2 separate regions of the Homo sapiens genome follow, and region 2 is linked to region 1. The links are contacts of gene promoters, found by promoter capture Hi-C in blood cells and fetal thymus (Javierre and others, 2016). All regions are on one chromosome and are shown on one strand. The core of a region is centred on a gene start or on the middle of the fragment in contact, and the rest is flanking DNA. Distances in the headings are between cores, read along the strand shown. Region 1 holds the start of STK26 (serine/threonine kinase 26). Region 2 overlaps STAG2 (STAG2 cohesin complex component).

Region 1 (5,311 bases), core at 894-3,393:
AGGGCAATGCCTAGGGGTTTAACCTGACATCAATAAAATATATAGTGTATACATTATGCACCTAGTAACCTCAGTGGAGAATTCAAAAGAAGTTCATTCATTCATTCAACAATTATTTATTGAGGGCCTACTACATGCCATGAACCTAGTCTCTGGGGATACAGCAATGGACAAAATGTATAAAAAGCTTGCCCTCAGACTCCTGCCATCCTACCTGAATCATTCTCATGTAAGAGAGGCTGGATCTCTGCCCTCAAGGACCTAATATGGGCACACAAAACAAATGAAATATATGAAATAAGAAGAAAGAACTACAGTGTGAGCGCTGCTCACATTGGAGGAGTTTGAAGGAGGGCTTGGAGCAACTAGGAAGGGTCAATGGAGGTGAGATTTGAGACAGGTCTTAAATGATGGAGCTTGATTCAGACCCTTGCGACTTAAAAGTGTGATCTAAACATCATCACCATGTGAGAGCTTGTTAGCATTGCAGAATCTTGGGCCCAGTCCAGACATGGGAGATAAAAATCTGCGCTTTTGAGGGAGCAAAAGAACCCTCGGATTTCTATGGACATTAAAAGTTTAGGTGGCACTGCAGGTTTCCGGTCAGGCTGGCAATGTTGTGAGCTGGGTTGGTGGGAAATCGAGACTAGATTGGAGCCTAACATTAGGTTAGAAATAGTGAAGGGCTGGACTTGGGGAACTAGGAGTAAGGAAAATGCAATTGTACCTTTTATCATCATTAAACACAAACAGAAACCATAGAGAAAGTAGTAAGTTTATCACCAGTCAGAGGGACCTGCGTCTGAATTCCCAGCTGTACCACTTCTTAATTGCGTGACATTTCGGTCAAATTATTTAACCTGGTTGAGCCTTTTTCTTCATCTGTAAAATGAGGGGAAATCAATAAGACTCCAGAAGGCCCTTGTACAGGTTCAGTAAGGTATTAATAACACATAGAAAGCACTTAGCAGTCCCTGGCACAATGAAAATAATATCCATTAATAATAACGATATTGATAAGAATTATATACTATTCTCTGAAAAAGATTTAAAAGGAAGAAGAGAAACTATCTTTTACCACTAGAGGCCCCCCACCGTGTGGTGCGTAGAGACCCATAACAAATTTCAAGGTAAGGAACTTCATCTTCATTTTAAACTGGCACTCGACTATTACTTTTTTAAAAAGTAATTAACCCCTTACGTGTTCCCAAAGGTGCCTTCATAATGAAATTCCTGTTACTATTATTACCAGTGTTACTGTCGCTACTGTTAGAGTACTCTCAAAAGAGCCTGTCTCCCTCTCCTGGAGTAGAACTTAAAATGGGGCGGAGGCAGGGAGTTACCAAAACCACTGCAGTGTATGCTGATTTCAATAACCTGTACTGCTAACGATCCAATCTCATTTCCCAAGCCTCTACTATCCTCATTAATTTTTCTGCCGATGTACCATCTGTTTTCCAATTTCCCTCTGCCTTACACGTGCAGAACTTGTGGTAGAGAGAAGCCCTAGTTTGGCCGTTCTGCAAGGGATAGCCCAGGAGGTAGGGGGAACCTTAAGTTGAAGTCACCTGAAGCATGTTTGGGGTCAGGGAACTCGGAAAGCAAGAGTGTGGCCACAGATCTGCCCAGAGGCGCGACCCCCAGCTGAGGAGACCAGATGGCGGGAAAAAGCGGGGGTCCACCGACTCCGCGGCTATCTGTAATCCTACCCTTGGCCAGGCCGGGGAGCCAAGAAAGACTTCCAACACTCCCCAAGTTTCAGCTCAAGTCGTCTCCGAGGCTGCGTGTGCCCCAGCCTCGCACGCCTCCCTGCAACGTGGCCGCATCTGGGGCGCCCTCATACCCTCAGGGTTTCCCAAACTCTTCCATTCTCTTCCCAGGCCCAGCCATGTCCCAGGTCTCCGGGTCCCCGGGTTCTCCTCTCCGCGTGCCGGGAGAGTCTCCAGCTTCTCAGACTCCAGCAACCCCAGCCAAACCTCTTCGCTGCCTGGAGCCTTGGCTCCCGCGACACCGCCCGGCTGCGGGGCGGGGGCAGGGCCAACGGCGGAACCGCCCCCAACCGCCTCCCAGGCCAGGCGAGCAGGCGGGTGGCTGGGGCGCCTCCACCTCCTCTTCCTAAAGCGGCGAGGCGCAGAGGAGCGGCATCACTCGAGCCCAGGTCCCAGCCACCACCACTCACAGCGCTCGGCGTTCAGGAAGAGGAGCAGCAGCGGAGGCGGCTGCTTCAGCGGCGGGCGGGCGCCAGAAAGGTAGACTGAGTCCCAGGGAGCTGCGCCGCTAACAGCCCACCTCCTAGCCCCGGGCTACGCGCCGCCAGCCCAGTAACCCCACTTTTGTGTGTCCTCCCAGGCCCCGATCGAAAAGCCTGGGAGGGCCGCCGAACTACCCCCGGAGGGAGGAGCCAGTCCGAACCCAAGGCGCCACCGCCGCAGAAGCGGAGCGAGGCAGCATTCGCCTCCATGGCCCACTCGCCGGTGGCTGTCCAAGTGCCTGGGATGCAGGTGAGGAAGCGCAGGCCGCCCCCGCCGCCCACGTGACTGCTTGGGAGCCCGGTGCGCCCTCGGTGCTGGGCACCGGCGACAAGGGACGGCCCCAGGGCTCCCCTGAGGGCAGGGCCGGTCACTATGGCCAGGTGACCTGGGAGTAGGGCTGGAGGTGTTTCCTGGTGTGTAGGCTAGGTAGTGCTCTTCGCTGGGAAGGCGAGGCGGGACTGGAGCGCGCAACTAGGTGGAGATTGAGGGCGGTTGGGGGTATAAAAATAGGCCAGAGCCACAGACACCTGCGCCTGCTGAGCTTGGCACGGTTGGGGATGGGGGGGCGGAACTTAACCTGGGAGAGATGGAAGTGCCTTGGAATTTGTGGGGTATAACGCGAGTAGTGAGTGCCCTACACCCCCCACCCCAAACACACACTCAAGTTGGGGCGGGGCAACACCAGGGGTGGCGGCGGCGGCGGCTTGAATTGGGCTCTTCCTGTGTGCGTAGGGCTAAGAGAGAGGTGACCTCTTTCTCCCTTTCGGTACTGCTGCTTAAGGGCAAAGTTGTAGCTTGCTCCCCGACCTAGCCCAGCCCATAGTGTGGCGTGAGAAATGCTGGTTCTGTTCAGAGTCACTGAGGTGATGACTTCTCAGCCCCCTCCGTGCCTTTCCCACAAGATGACTGTTACATGTGGTTAAAGGAAGCTTTTTGTCTTGGACAAGGGACTACTGCATGGGACCCAACTTGTTACTCGAAGTCTACCCAGCCCAACCCCCTCCCATTATATTTTCATTTTATTAAAGATAAGCTATGTCAGAAAACTTTTTATGCTGTTATGTTTTTAAATCGGTGCATTTTAGGCTATCTGCTAAGTGTTATCCAAATTTACTAACTTTTTAAAGCATTCATGTTCTATTTTTTTTTCCTTTGCTAGATGGCCTAAACAACCCATTTAGGGGCTAAAACCACTGAAGCCTCAGTCTTTCATGATCTAAAATGTGAAAACAAACTTTTTTGAAGTTCAAAAATAAAATGTTTATAGTAAATAGCTTATATTTCTAGTAGAAATCAAAGAGCTGTAGACTGGGGCCTCAATTTACTTATTGATACATGGAGTTTTTTTTTTTTTTTCAGTGTTCTCATTTTATGAATGTCCACAAAAGTGATTTTTAAATTCTTTCCCAAAATGGGATTTATTTGTGCACCTAGAACTCTTGGTGTGTCCTAAACACCAGACATTTCAGCTGCATTTAGGGCAAGTCTGGGTTGAGTCTCAGGAAGTTAGTGTATATTAAATAAAGAGAGAGAGAGAAAGGGAAATAGGAAATAGTAGGGCTTAAAAAAAAAGATTAATCCACTCAAGCCTTGCAAAATGCCTTAAACTTTCTTCCTCTCAGGCGGCCTCCCCTCTCCTTCCCTCCTTCTTTTCCCCACGCACCCTGCCCCACACCCCATTCATTCAGTTCTGCCTTTGATTGTATCAAGGGAATTCATAGTTCACAATACTAAGTACAGTTTTGCTGTTTGATCTGGGAAAAAGTGACATTTTCTCACCGTGCTCTTCTTTCCATTCTGTGGAGAGTAAAACGATGCACATGTGAAGTTTGTCTCTGAGGGTCTCCATGCTTCTCGCTCCATTGTGTGCGCGAGCCTGCGTGTGTGCGTCAGCAGAGTGAGTGCCTCCAGTTCATCAAGTTTGTGATTCTGGGGAACTCTGTGTGCTGAGGGGAAAATGGTTTCTGATTTTTATTTTATTTGTCTTGAACTTATTGAATTTATATGGTTTAGGAACTGCTTGCTGTTCAGTATTTCTGATTGCTCCCTGCTTTTAATTATCTGAGTTGCCTATCTCTTGAATTTTTAAATCTTAATTAATGTGGATTCGAATGTGAATCATATACTTTAAATTACAAATTCTGCCTTTCACTCTGTGCCCTCTGAGTTGTGATTACTTTGTCCCACCTAATTTGAGTAGGGCAAACATCTCAACGTTAGCAAAGAAGAGAGGAATCTTTTTTTTTTTTTTTTTTGGTCATTCTCTTCATCTTAATGAAATGGTAAATTCTTAACTTCTTATTTCCATTTTATTTCTAATGTAGTTCTTAAGCACTTTGTGCAGCACACAGTTTTTTCCATAGTTGAAAATGTACAATACCTTAATAATAAATTTGATAGCATGCAGTGTGACTCTTGAAGCTAGACTATTTTTATTATTGTTATGTAGCAAAATATTGCAGATGAGATGCAGAAATCTATCGTGAGCTTGTAAAATTCTCCTAGAGTTTTATGAAGGCGTTAGGAGCAACTTTTAGACCTTTAGAAAACTTCAGTTAGCCATGTGTTCTTGAAATTACTGTATAGTGTTTCCACAAATCAGGGTGAGGTAGCCGACCAGCCTATAACTTTTTAACAGTTTATTTTAGAGAATTATGAAGATTGATGGGAAAAATGATTTTTCCAGAAATACAAAGAAAATTACTTTATCCACAATTATTTTCTCCCTCTGAGGAGAGACGTGAAGTAGAAGCCCAGCTACCTGTTCTATCACTTAAGATTTCCAGCATTCCTGACTTTCAAACAAAGAAATTGCTGTTGCCACTAGTTTAAAATAGAAAAGAAACTTGGAGTGAAGAAAGAAAACCCAGGATTTCGTCCAGTTCAAACTCTTCCTTATGAATTAGTTATTCAAACTCATATTGTTGATATTTCTTAATATTGTGGTAACGAACATTTTTTGCCACGTTACACCAAATGTTGAGGGTATGAAGTTTTTTGTACTTAATTTGTGCTTACTTCTTTAGTGTGTAACTAGAGGAATTTTCCATACCAGTAGC
Region 2 (5,785 bases), core at 532-3,031, 8.1 Mb before region 1:
ATCACCTCATGCCCCAAGGATCTGGTGCTATAACTAGTTAGAAGTTGATATGTAAAATATTTCAATATTGTCTGTTAACATTCTGACCATTACCCGTAAACAGTAAAAATGTGTTGCAATGACAATCCTTGGTCTCCCTTAATTAGTGCATTTGTGAACTGCTCCTAAATTCTATTAAGGTAAGTGCCTTTTTTTTTTTTTTTTTTGGCAGTTCTATACTGTTCAGTGTCAGGTTTATTTTTTTCCCCCAGGAGATACATTTTAAAAATACATGTCACAGTTCCGAAAGGAATCCAAAACAATGGATATTTAATTTATAGCAAAATTTCACCCCAATCTGGGAACAGACATTTTGTAACTGTTACCATTAGTCTGTTTGTGTATTTCATATTCAGGATTTTAGCTTTAGAAGGATGTTAAAGGAAAATAGGTGACATATTTCAAATTTTTATTCATATACAAATATTCTTAGTAGATGGTAAGGATTGTGGCATCAGATTTATTTTATTGTGGTGAGGCAATAGCTAAACTACTACACTAACACATGATGAGTTTGGTAACTTTCAAGTATATTTAGTTAGGATTTTTTAAAGCCCAAATGCTCAAATAAGATTTTCATGAAATCAAATTCTACATTTCTTTTTCAACTGTATTGACTTCTGCGGTCACCTGAGGACTTATGAATTAAAGTGAATGGGATGGGCTTGGGGGACAGGCTAAGGCTCAGATCTATTCCTTTGGGAATTTAGGGTTAGATGTGAAAATATGCAGTTTAGTAATGCTTAATATTGTGCATGTTTAACTGATACCACCCACAGTCATATGTGGGAAGGTAGTAAACAGAGAATAGCATAATCTTTCTGCTTCGGGTTCTTTATAATAGATGGCAGACTTCAGTTTTTGATGCTGCAAGTTGACTTTTGAACTTAAACCAAAATCGGCGGGGCACAGTGGCTCACACCTGTAATACCAACACTTTGGGAGGCTGAGAGGCTGAAGTGGGGGGATCACTTGAGCCCAAGGAGTTCAAGACCAGCCTGGGCAACATAGGGAGACCCCATGTTTATAGATAATTTAAAAATTAGGTGTGGTGGTGCACACCTGTGGTCCCAGCTATTTGGGAGGCTGAGGCAGGAGGATCACCTGAGCCCGGTACATAGAGGCTGCAGTAAGCCACGATTGCGCCACTGCACCCAGCCTGGGCAACAGAGCAAGACCCTGTCTCAAAAAAAAATTAAAAATAAACTAAAATGTACAGTTTACTATATAATGGAGTACCGTTTTGGGAGTTGGGGAGAATAGCGAGGGAGAGGGATAGTTTCAGGTATGGGCATCAGTATATACTGAAGTGTGATTGTTGGAGAGTAAGGAAGGAACTTTAAAGACATAGGCTATTTTAAAAGTTTTTGGCTGGGCACCATGGCTCACGCCTGTAATCCTAGCACTTTGGAAGGCTGAGGCAGGCGGATCATGAGGTCAGGAGTTCAAGACCAGCCTGGCCAACATGGTGAAACCCCCATCTCTACTAAAAATACTAAAATTAGCTGGACGTGGTGGTGCGCGTCTGTAGTCCCAGCTGCTTGGGAGGCTGAGGCAGGAGAATCGCTTGAACCTGGGAGGCAGAGGTTGCAGTGAGCTGAGATCGCGCCACTGCACTGTAGCCTGGGCGACAGCGAGACTCCGTTTAAAAAAAAAAAAAGTTCTTAACATTTTTCTGCATTGGCTACATGTTCAGGACTTTAGTTCGTGTTTCAGTACTGTCCCTGTGTAATAATTCTTTATGTTTCTGGGTATCATAAATGATGGTTATTGCGTGTTCTGATTGGCAAAGATATATGATAAAGCAAAATTATCAGTTTGATTTTTCAGTCTCTTGAGTTGACTGCTTTACGTTTAATTTACCCAAATTTTATATTTCTTCAGTGTAAGTGGTGTTGCTTAGTGGAGTCTAATTTTTGTTGATGTGCCTTTTAAAAATCTATGCATCTTCAGCAGCTGTGGTAATCTGCTACCTGAATTGTGTTTTTAATGTGTGCTTGCTATAGATCTTTGATACTCACCAGTAGACACCAAGAAGTCTTTACATATGGTTATTGTAGTAAGTCAAGAAGAGATTTATTTATTTTTTGAGACGGAGTTTTGCTCTTGTTGCCCAGGCTGGAGTGCAGTGGCATGATCTTGGGCTCCCTGCAACCTTTGCCTCCCGGGTTCAAGTGATTCTCCTGCCTCAACCTCCCAGTAGCTGGGATTACAGGTGTCCGCTACCACGCCCAGCTAATTTTTTGTGTTTTTAGTAGAGACAGAGTTTCACCATGTTGGTCAGGGTGGTCTCAAACTCCTGACCTCAGGTGATCCACCCACCACAGCCTCCCAAAGTGCTGGGATTACAGGCGGAGCCACCGTGCCTGGCCAAGAAGAGATTATTGAAATTGTTTTCCATTCCTTCTGCCGAAGAAAGAGAGGATGAATAATGTCAATGGTGTATTTTTTTTTTTTTTTTTTTTTTTTTTGAGACGGAGTTTTGCTCTTGTTGCCCAGGCTAGAGTGCAATGGTGCGATCTTGGCTCACTGCAACCTCCACCTACTGGGTTCAAGCGATTCTCCTGCCTCGGCCTCCCGAGTAGCTGGGATTACAGGCATGTGCCACCACACCGGGCTAATTTTGTACTTTTAGTAGAGACGGGGTTTTTTCCATGTTGGTCAGGCTGGTCTCGAACTCCCGACCTCAGGTGATCTGCCTGCCTCGGCCTTCCAAAGTTCTGGGATTACAGGCGTGAGCCACTGCGCCCAGCTGGCCTATTCTTTTTTATTACAGTCATGCATTGCTTAACGGCGGGCATACCTTCTGAGAAATGCATCTTTAGGTGATTTTGTTGTGTGAGCATCATACAGTGTACCTACACACACCTAGATGGAATAGCCTACTATACATCTATGCCATATGGTATGACCTGTTGCTCCTAGGCTACAATCCTGTACAGCATGTTGCTGTACTGAATATCGTAGGCAGTTATAATACAGTGGTAAGTATTTGTGTTTGAAAACAAAAAAGATACAATAAAAATACGGTATAAAAGAAAAAATAGTACACCTCTATAGGGCAGCTCCCTTATAATCTTATGGGACCACTGTCTTTTTTTTTTTTTTAGATGGAGTCTCCCTCTGTCGCTCAGGCTGGGGTGCAGTGGCGAGATCTTGGCTCACTGCAACCTCTGCCTCCTGAGTTCAAGCGATTCTCCTGCCTTAGCCTCTCAAGTAGCTGGGATTACAGATGCATGCCACCATACCCGGCTAATCTTTGTATTTTTGGTAGAGACGGGCTTTCACCATATTGGTCAGGCTGGTCTCAAACGCCTGACCTCGTGATCCGCCTGCCTCAGCCTCCCCAAGTGCTGGGATTACAGGCATGAGCCACTACACCCAGCTGGGACCACCGTCTTATATGCAGTCTGTTGTGGACTAAAATGTCATTATATGGCACATGACTGTATTTTAATTGGGAAATACATTACTAGGCTTGATGAGACAAACTAGGGAGATTTCAGTAAGCTCTGCCTAACTTAAGGGACCATTCAAAGGTAAAATTTCTTTGTAAGAAATAAGTTGGCTGGGCGTGGTGACTCACCCTCTGAATCCCAGCACTTTGGTAGGCCAAGGTGGGAAGATCTGTTGAGCCCAGGAGTTTGAGACCATCCTGGGCAACGTAGGGAGACCCCATCTCTACAAAAAAATTTAACAATTAGCTGGGTATGGTTGTGCAGCCTGTGGCCCCAGTTACTGGGGAGGCTGAGGTGGGAGGATCACTTGAGCCCCAGCAGGTTGAGCCTGCAGTGAGCCATGATCATGCCTTTGCACTTCAGCCTGGGCAAAAGAGTAAGACCCTATCTCAAAAAGTTGTTTAAATTCTGTTGTACATCGTTCAAGGGGGGTGAAAAACAAGTCCTATTTACATTTTTGCAAGAATAACTTTTGAAACCTGAAGCATTCTAAGAAACTTAATTTAACTGCTATTTAAGTTCCTACTGAATGCCAGTAATGCTTTAATCTTCTGTTTAATCTTCTCAACCACTTTGCAGGATAGGTTGTCCTCATCATTTTACACGTGGGGAAATTGACGCTCTCAGAGAGTAAATGCCTTGTCTCAAGTCACATGGATTCACACTCAGATTAGCCTGGCCTCAAAACCTTTGTGCTTTTTTGTTAAACTCAGTTGTTTCCCTTATCTGGTTTAGGTCTTGGGCTATCTGTCATCAGAGAGCATGCATTCTTATTTTAATTTTACAAAATCAAGATTCTTTTTCATGTATAGTGCAAGGTAAATATAGATTTTTACCCAGAGTCAGATAAGTTGCTGCCTGAGGTCTATATTGTCTTTTAATAGTAATAGAAGTAGTTGAAATAAATCTGAGCATTGGTTTTGTTTGCATATGCTTATTAAAGTTTGTGGGATAATGAATTGTATTCTTGAATTTTTTGGGGGGGGAATCATGTGATACATGAAATGGTTTCATAGATATTTTTTCTTTTAGGTCATTTATGCTCTATTTAAAATGGAGATTACATGTGTCTGAGAATTGTTCCCCAGTCCTTCAGCTTGTTTTACTGAGTGGTTAGATTCGAAGTAAAAAGTTTAGGCTAATCTTTAATAATTCAGCGCTCTGGTTCTTTAGGGGTATTTTTTGTTATTTAATTGTACCTTAAAAATTCTTTTTTATTCTGTTAATATCTCCTGTTTGCTTATACTTCCTATTTTAGTTCATCTTTCACTATTAAGTTTTCTTGTTCTTACTGTTATCAGGTGATAAATAGTTAATATCAGGGCCCCAAGTTATTAGGTTCATTAGTGATCGGTATCTTAGTCTCAGTTTTCTTTTTCCTTTCTGTTTTTTTTTTAGATGGAGTTTCGCGCTTGTTGCCCAGGCTGTGGTGCAGTGGCATGATTGGCTCACTGCAACCTCCGCCTCCCAGGTTCAAGCGATTTCCTCGCCTCAGCCTCCCGAGTAGCTGGGACTACAGGCGCGTACCACCACACCCGGCTAATTTTTTGTATTTTTGGTAGAGACGGGATTTCCCCATGTTGGCCAGGCTGGTCTCGAACTCCTGACCTCAGGTGATTCACCCATCTCCACCCCACAAAGTGCTGGGATTACAGGCGTGAGCCACCGCACCCGGTCTTCCTGTTTTTTTTTTTTTTTTTTTTTTTTTTTAATTGTAACTGAAGTTTTTTTTATCTGAAGGAATTCTGGTTGTTGGACTTATGACCTAAGATAAATTTATGGAGACAAGGAAAACAAAATATATATATTTGTGCTTTTCATAGCCATGAGTCAAATTTATATGTTTATATTGATCATTCCTTTAAGCTTTAACATGTAGGAAATACTTTTTTCCCAGGTGATGAACAGCAGTCTTATACTCAGACTCTTTGTTCATTGAGGAGTCTTTTCATCCATATTTCCCCCTTTGTATTCCAAGAAAACCAAGAACTGGTGTTCCATGACAGAATTATTCCCCGAGGCATCCATTGTATATTATAAATTAGTTTCTCCCCTGCACATCTAGAAAGATATTAGTTAGGTATCATTCTTGGGAGACTTCAGGAATAGTCACTGAAGTCATTTTCTGAGTTCTGTAGTCAAGTCATTTTCTGAGTTCTGTAGTTAACATGAGGAACACTGGTTGAGAAAGGCTGCTAGAATATTAAGGGACTTGGTTTGGCACTAAATAAAGTTTTACTTTTCACTGTCACTTTCCTGTTAGTAACTCTAATATGGCCTCTATTAAA

The links. Contacts are between HindIII fragments. The CHiCAGO score rates a contact against its expected background, and 5 or more counts as called.
Region 2: a contact is called between a fragment that was not itself captured here and the fragment with the promoter of STK26 in region 1, in 1 of 17 cell types (total CD8 T cells). The highest score is 5.5, in total CD8 T cells.

The regions. Positions count from the first base shown.
Region 1 is chrX:132,021,159-132,026,469 of GRCh38, forward strand. It overlaps STK26 (serine/threonine kinase 26), which reads left to right and starts at 2,144. Exons shown (of 12, transcript NM_016542.4): 1 at 2,144-2,249; 2 at 2,350-2,501. The coding sequence starts at 2,460. RefSeq lists enhancers at 1,692-2,238, 1,726-1,775, 2,226-2,385, 2,239-2,786, 2,756-2,825 and a silencer at 1,936-2,185. The HindIII fragment of the contact is 2,994 bases long and covers 186-3,179 here.
Region 2 is chrX:123,964,773-123,970,557 of GRCh38, forward strand. The region is part of intron 1 of STAG2 (STAG2 cohesin complex component); the gene reads left to right. Among named protein-coding and RNA genes, the nearest start is that of STAG2, 6.0 kb to the left of the region's middle. The HindIII fragment of the contact is 7,160 bases long and covers 1-5,361 here.